Linked DNA regions of Homo sapiens: region 1 is linked to region 2. The links are contacts of gene promoters, found by promoter capture Hi-C in human tissues and cell types (Jung and others, 2019). All regions are on one chromosome and are shown on one strand. Each heading gives the region's core, a stretch centred on a gene start or on the middle of the fragment in contact. The rest is flanking DNA. Distances are from core to core; before and after follow the strand shown.

Region 1 (4,283 bases), core at 99-2,598, 570 kb after region 2:
TATGATGAGTGATAGTAAGTGTAGGCATTCTTGTTTTATTTTTACATTATTGGAAAAAAAGTGTATTTGCTTGAAATTTTGCTCATTAAGCTTGGCTATATGACTGCCATCAAGGTAAAGAAGCTTATCTGGAATGGATAATTTTCTCAAGCTCTGTTTGATGAAGTGAGATGCTGTCAAGATTCTCTTTACCATCAGCCCCAGGGATTTTTGACCTCATTTATCTGCAGATCTTTCTTCCTTTAAATGCAAAGTTAGAGTTCATTATTGAATGTGCCTCAACTTGTGTTTACATTTACTTAAGTTTATTTATTTTTTCTTCTTCAGAGCTTGAATTGTAAACTCTGCTTTAGAAGTAGTACAAATCTTCTTCACTCCCCCCATTTCATCCATCCCAGGAACATTCAAAGAAAATTCTTAGAGGTGAATCTGTAAAGGGGAATTAAAGGCAAGCATTGATTCCAGGAAAGATGGAGCAACAACAGCTTTTGCTTCTGGGGCTACAGTGACTTTGCCAACAGTAAGAAGAGTCTCAGAAATTGAGAAAAAAATAAGAAATAGGTTATTTATCTTGAGGCACATCGTTGACCACATATCCAGGCTCTTCCTTCACTTTTAGTTATGAAGCTTACCCTTTTCAATGACCTAGTGGCCTAAATCTCAAGGCAGCCTTAATTAAGGATACAATTTTCAGCTGAGAAACCAAGTTACAGCAAGATATTAAGTTTTTTTTTTCATAGATGTTAGTGTTTTAAAAAAAATAGTTATGTTGAGAAGGCAAAGGATCACTTATAGGTGATTTTAAGAATCAAAAGGATCCTTTGATATGCTTCTAGATAAAACATGTTGGCAATTTTCTACTTGATAATTGATGTACTATTGAGGTCATCACTAATCATTAAAAATATATGGATGGGTCACTTCTGATCAGATATTGTAGAATCGTTGGTATCTAGGTCGTACAATTTTAGAAAGTTCAGGAAAATGTCCCTGGCTCTCATTATCTCCCACATCTGACAGCAGTGATGTAGACATTTGATTCTTTGATTTGGGACTTTTCCTTTCCGGGAATGATCAGTAGAAATCCAAACACTGTGGATGTGGTAAGGCATATACAGTTACTACTCTTTTCACCTTAGAATAAGTTACTTCATCTGTTATCTGGAGAATGAATGGAACAAGACTGAAAGGGATTATATATTAATCATCACTTATCAGCCAGAGTGCCATATGAGGCCTCTAAATAGAGTTGGGATAGGTGGTTGGATAGAGACATAAAAGCCTAATCTCAGCTTTGCTATTATCAACAGGGCATCCTTGTGAAAGTCACCTCCCTTCCCCGGGTTTCAATTTCCTAATTTAGAAAAGGGTATTAGATTAGAATGATCTCTTGGTTACTGCCCAGTAATGTGAACCCCAAAGATCTGAAACAGGTCTCAGTTAATTTAGGAATTTTATTTTGCCAAGGTTGAGGACACACACCTGTGACACAGCCTCAGGAAGTCCTGACAACATGTGCCCAAGATGGTCAGAGCACAGCTCGGTTTTGTACATTTTAGGGAGACATGAGACATCAATCAACATATGTAAAATGAACATTAATTTGGTCCAGAAAGGTGGGACAACTTGAAGCAAAGGTGGGACAACTTGAAGCAAAGGTGGGACAACTCAAAGAGGGGACAGGCTTCAGGGCACAGGTTGGTGAGAGACAAATGGTTTAATTCTTTTGAGTTTCTGATTAGCCTTTCCAAAGGAGGCAATCAGATATGCATTTATCTCAGTGAGCAGAAGGATGACTTTGAATAGAATGGGAAGCAGGTTGACCCTAAGCAGTTCCCAGCTTGAATTTTCCCTGTAGCTTAGGGCTTTTGGGGGCCCAAGATATTTTCCTTTCACATTTCCCCCCTTTTCTTTCTAAAAATCTTTTGGAGAAAGCATTTTAGAAGAAAATGAGCCTCAGGTTCCAAGTTTTGTCTGATCTCTCATGGCTAGGATGGTTTATTCCTAGACAGGTAGGTCCTGAGTTATTAGGAAAGGTCATTTTTAGAAGGTTGTGAAGTCTCATATTCTATGAAGAGAAAATACAGAGAGGAAGGGAGAAAAACAACAACAAACAAAAGAACAATCCTGGAAAATTGATATAGGCCACATTACTCTAAAGTCCATACATTAGTAGATAGGTATGAAAGTTGTTTATGTATGTAAATAGGTTGCTGTTATTTTCTTCTGAAGTTTAAGTTGTCTAGCTTCAGTTCACAGGGCTTTACAGAAGCACAGCTTAGTTTTCAGTGACTGCAAATTAGGAAAAATGGGGGAAAGAAGCAGGGGAAAAAATGAAAAATGCTATATTGAAGAGTTGTAGCCAAGAAAAATTAGAATTAGGTCCAAATGGTAGAAAATAATAAAAATGGAAAAACATTAGGCAAGATTAGAATCTAACAACAGGTGTACTATAGTTTTTGAAACATAATTTTTCTGTCTCCAGTTTCCCATTTTTACTAAAGACAAATCATGGTAAGACTGGTTTGTTTTATTATACTGGGTCTAATTATTTGTATACAGTGCAGCAAGAATAATTATTTTTTTACATAGGCTTTTATTTTATTTATTTATTTATTTGAGATGGAGTCTCACTCTGTCACTGAGGCTGGAGTGCAGAGAAGTGATACTGGCTCACTGCAACCTCCGCCTCCCAGGTTCAAATTATTCTTATGCCTCAGCCTCCTGAGTAGCTGGGATTACAGTTGCCTACCACCACACCTGGCTACTTTTTGTATTTTTGGTGGAGGAAGAGTTTCATTATGTTGGCCAGGCTGGTCTCAAACTCCTGACCTCAAGTAATCCGCCTGTCTCGGCTTCCTAAAATGCTGGGATTACAGGTGTAAGCCACTGTAGCTGGCCTTACATAGGCTTTTAAATTCGATTTGATGGAACTGTGTTCCACAGAAAGAGTCCCAGATAAGACTTTCTAAAGCCGAGCCAGGCTATGGATTTGTGCCATTAAATACCTATGAGTTCAACGATCCTCTCCTCCTGAGGTTCCAAGATAAACTTAGGGCTCCTGGCTCCTGTTAGAAAGTGACAATCCTTACTTGCCACAAGTCAGAAAACATGTACAGGGGCTATGTAGACAAAGGTATGAGGCCAGTTTTTCCAAGGGTCTTTTATTTGCTCCATAAATCAAGTTTCATTCCTTAAAGGAAAGCACACCATTTCAGTAAAAGCCTTGGTAAAATAACCAGTTTCTCGAATTATGTCCTGTTATAAATGAAAGATTCTTATTACACTTATGCAAATAACTATATTGTCATAAGTTAAGAATACTCACAAATAGTTTCCAAATTTTGGAGAAATCAGGTAGAGAGAAAAAAATATGCTCCAAATTTTGTTCACAGGAGTATACCTTACTCAATTATTAAAAGCTGTAAACAGCTTAAAAGTTTTCTTGACTCTGGAAAACAAAATAAAGAATCAACAATATTTTAACCAAAAAGTTAAAAAGATTACTTTAGTCTTCTATTAGTTCAGTTCATGCAGTTTACTCCTGTTCTCCTTGATATTCATGAATATTTCAGCTCTCCATGAGAGTATTGAAAGTTTTTTCCTCCATTGTAATGTCACAATCTCCAAAGTTATCAGAAACCTGCTTTTAAGGACACCTGTTAGAGTTCTATAGCTGATTATAAAACCACATTCTAAGGAGGAGCAAAACAAGACAACAATTGTCCATGGATGACAAAAAGTTTTATGGCAGTCATAGTCAAAAACACAATTGATAAGGAAATTTGTTACCTCTGTGGCACACAATAATTTAACATAACAATTATAATTATTACTGATAATGTACACTATTATAATTATTACTGATAATGTACACTTAGTCACATCAGAAACATAGAAGTTTCCCATAATTTTGGAACACATAGCAGTAACATATTTGTACAAATACAGCCTAAAGAAAAACAAATGTCATTTCATATTTGACAATGTTTCCTGTATAATTTGTATACGAAATAAGCCAAATTATATCATTTTTGGACTTTAGGGAAACTAATGTCTTAAAGGATCAGTTAGGTCAGAAAAAGACATGTTATAATTTTATTTTGGAAAGCTTGTCAAATATCAAAGGTTTAAAACACTTGATGTCACAGGTAATTGTACAATAAATCATTTATTTGACCAAAGTGATAACTCAAGAATTTCAAAAAAAAGGTAAAAACCTTCATTCTTTGAGAGAGGAGACTGAATTTTCCAAACAATAAGCCCTAATAAAAACAACATGA
Region 2 (4,024 bases), core at 285-2,784:
TTCTAAATTTTCCATTTCAGTGGAAATATGTTTAGTCTTAGTTTCTAAATATATATTTTCTTCTGGTAGGTGCTTTAGGATGACCTACCAAGTTGGGATTTAAGTTTTAAGAAAATGCGTTAGAAATAATTCTGAGCATATTTGAGTAACTGAGGCTAAGTAGACTTTTTTAGAGTGTTGCAAATTTTATTCTTCTGAAACTTTAGAAAAGTTTGCACCCTATAATCCTTTAACTGGTTACAGTTAAAAGGGGTAATGAAGCATATATTTTAATTCAGGTTTAGATGTCAGAGGAATCTAAGACACTAAAGAAGTGGGTCCATCGACAGGACAACAGATGGTATCTGGCACTGCAGTGGCAACTTGAACAGTTTCACATTTCACCCATCACCTTAATTTCTATCTTACCTTATGTCCTCTGTAAAAGGCAATTTCTTCTACATTGGCTATAATTCTCGAGTGCACATACCGCAAATAGCCTTTTCTATGTGCTTCCTCTGCCACCAGTTTGCCAAATTTGGGAGAACAGGCTTTTAACACTTTAGCAGTGGCATACACCACAAGTCCTGCTAGTAGGGTGGGCCCAATTGGGCTTGCTCCTCTGGATGTAGCAGTTTGAATGAGTGTATAGGAGGTCAGCATTACATCTAAAATAGGTTTGGTCAGATTGGAATACAAGTGAGCCACAGATTGGGAGAACATCATAATATCCTCCGTAAGAGATTGGTCAGGGTTTGCCAGCCTCCCATCCATATTGATCACTTTATAATAAGTCTGATTTGTAAAATAGGTTTCATAGGCGTGGTCTACTAGGCGAGTTCTGAAGGCCAAAGCCAATTTGCATTCCAGGTACCTTATTGCACTGTTGACGAAGGTAGCAGGGATGGCAATCATAAGCCACTTGATTAATTTGATGATGAAAGTCCGAGGCTTCTTTTCCACAATGCTTTTCACGATTTTTCCATCCAGACCAGCCACATAGATAGAAAGAAAGGTTCTTGAGATTAGAGCCACTGAGTGCAGGCAGAGCCACCCTGTTTCAGTGGTCACAAGTTTTGGAAACAAAATTTTCCGAAGTTCTAGTAGCTGTTTGAAGAAATCTGCATTCACTCCAGGCGAAGGTTTTTCACAAATGGTCTCGGTGCAATGCAGTATTTCTGTGTTCTCTGCAGCAGGGTAAGCTGCTGCTTTTTTCTTCCCGTGGCCAGATTGCTTTAAACGCTTGCCAATGATGGGATAGAGGGTTTTCAGAGCATATGCCGCAGCCACCAGGCAGGCAGCCCTCTTAGCAGCACTCGATCTGGTCCATTTCACTCGATCAGCTGCTGCATTTAGCATATGTGTCATTTTCCCAGTTACCCAAACCGGCTTCCAAAAGAATTCGTTTTAAAAGATCATGCTTCACAGAAATCCCCAGCAAATGTTTTAGAAAGTCCTACAGCGTCCCATAGTCTGCAGCGTTTCTCTTCCACTGTTGTGTTTTTAATTTTGTTCTGCTGTGACAGATGCAGCAGAGCTCAGACTCCGCTGCATCTACCGGGAATGATTCTCTCAGAAGCTCAAGCTGCACCAAGCTCCTCCCTCCCAGGCCCCTCATTGGCTGTGAGGGCGGTGGGACCTTGGAATCCTCGCAGCTTCCCTTTGAACCTTGAAAATGAGGAGAGAGCAAAGCGAATTACATCCTTCCTTAAACAGGAGTTCAGAGAGTTAAAATGTCTATTTTTGGAGAGGTCGAATCAGGCCATCTGCTGGCGAACAAAACCGGCTCTAGCTACTGAGCATGCTCAGTGTCACTTAGAAACCCACAGAAGTTTCAGAATATACATCACTTCGGTAAGATTTCAGTAGATACCGCAAACAGAAGAGCAAGCAGAAAGGGAGATTTCCAAGCGAACAAAACCGGCCCTAGCTACTGAGCATGCTCAATGTCACTTAGAAACCCGCAGAAGTTTCAGAATATACATCACTTCGGTAAGATTTCAGCAGCTACCGCAAACAGAAGAGCAAGCAGAAAGGGAGATTTGCAAGAGTTTTAATGAGACGAGGAGGGAGAAGGAACCACGAAAATGAGGGAGGAGGGACAAGAGGATCAACATAAAATGAATATGAAAAGGATATGGAATGAATCTGAAACGGATCAGAAAAGAAAGTGACAAGTGGGAGGGACACCGGAGAATGCCAAATATCAAATACACTTGGATCTGTTTTTCACAGATCCCCCCGGCTTTTTTGGGGGTCTGATTTCACAAAAGGTCTCAGAACCTAATAGACAAGTTGTAATCGAGGGTTTCCCTTGTAAATAAATAGGATAAAAGTCTTCCGTGTTACAGAAAATAATTATTTGCTATGCCTCTAGCCATTCTCCCTTTTTCCTCTGCATCCTACTTGTCCTTATGCTAAAAATCTTCCAGCCCCATAACTGGAGATCTGATGTACTCATATTTATTTACAAGGTGACGACTATTAAATAAATGAGAGCAATGTTTCATGTTTACTACTCCCATGTGTTAGGTAGTTTTTACTTGGAGTGGGGTAGCACTTATAGTGAAAGTTTAACCATTTGGGAATTCAGCTGGTGTTGGATGGTGGAAATAGCTTCTCTAGGACCTTACTTCATTTTTCAAGAATGCTTTGTCTTTTGCAGGTTTCTGCTTTGTTTGTTTTGTTTAGCTGTAGAGATAATCTACTGGCTACTTCCTATTTCCATTTGGTTATTTGATAAAAACTAAGAGTCTTAAAATTCTTCACATCCATAATGGAGGATTTAAATTGTTCAACAGTCAAGGACAATTCTGCATATTTTTGAAAATGTAAAAAGCTTTTTTTTTTTTTTTTTTTTTTTTTTTTATGAGACAGAGTCTCTCTCTGTCACCCAGGCTGGAGTGCAGTGGCACGATCTCAGCTCACTGCAGCCTCCGCCTCCCAGGTTGGTGCCTCAGCAGCCCGAGTAGCTGGGATTACGAGGGTGCGCCTACCATACTTGGCTAATTTCTGTAGTTTTAGTAGAGATGGGTTTTGCCATGTTTGCCAGGCTGGTCTCAACCTCCTGGCCTCAAGTGATCCACCTGCCTTAGCCTCCCAAAGTGCTCGGATTATAGACGTGGGCCACCACGCCCAGCCAAGAGCATTTTTTAAGTCAGGGCTGAGTATATTTTTGGATATGGAAAAACCATTTTTTTTGCTCTTCACTGTCCCCGCCCCCCATCTCATTAAAATTCTCGGAAATCTCCCTTTCTGCTTGCTCTTCTGCTTGTGGTATCTACTGAAATCTTACAAAAGTGATATATATTCTGAAACTTCTGGGGATTTCTAAGTGACACTGAGTATGCTCAGTAGCTACAGCCAGTTTTGTTCACCAGCAGCTGGCCCCCAACATACATACACATTTCCAGTCAATTAAAAGCTTAGGAAAATATGCATCAAGCTAGAACAGAAGTTGGCAAATTACAACTGGTGGGCCAAATCTAGCCTGCCACTTAATTTTATATGACCCTTAAGCTAGGAATGATTTTTACATTTTTAAAGTGGTTGAAAATACTTCAAAACAAGAATATTTTGTCCTGTGAAAATTATATAAAATTCTCATTTTTGTGTTTATAAATAAAGTTTTATTGGAAAACAGTCACACCCATTCATTTACTCTCTGTCTATGGCTTCTTTCAAGCCACAGTGGTGGATGCAACAAAGACTAAAATATGTACTATTTGGCCCTTTATAGAAGTTTGCAAACCTCTGTGCTAGAATATAAAACCCATCTCAGCATTAAATGATCTTCATTACTGAGTTTATCACAAAGAACTATCCTCACTTTCATAAGTAACCATATTCTTAAAATTTTAAAACTTCTTTCTTATGTACTCATATTAATTCTGACAATCATCACATATCTCTTCATTTGTTTGCATTCAATTCAGCAGACTGACTGACACATGAGTGTCAAACTCATGCAAGTTTTTTTGATAGCTGGCCATATTAGTAGCATAATCCATCATCCCATTAAGACTTTTTAAGCCTGTATGTACAG

What was found. The method cuts DNA at HindIII sites, captures the fragments that hold promoters and counts their contacts. A contact is called where the count stands out against the background at its distance.
Region 1: a fragment that was not itself captured here is called in contact with the fragment with the promoter of ABCD2 in region 2 in 1 of the 25 tissues and cell types used here (hippocampus).

The regions. Positions count from the first base shown.
Region 1 is chr12:40,185,755-40,190,037 of GRCh38, forward strand. The region is part of intron 1 of LRRK2-DT (LRRK2 divergent transcript); the gene reads right to left. Among named protein-coding and RNA genes, the nearest start is that of LINC02471, 32 kb to the left of the region's middle. The HindIII fragment of the contact is 7,808 bases long and covers 1-4,283 here.
Region 2 is chr12:39,618,269-39,622,292 of GRCh38, forward strand. ABCD2 (ATP binding cassette subfamily D member 2) reads right to left here and starts at 1,535. Exons shown (of 10, transcript NM_005164.4): 1 at 409-1,535. The coding sequence starts at 1,347. RefSeq lists enhancers at 937-1,016, 1,327-1,846, 3,076-3,155. The HindIII fragment of the contact is 5,264 bases long and covers 1-3,110 here.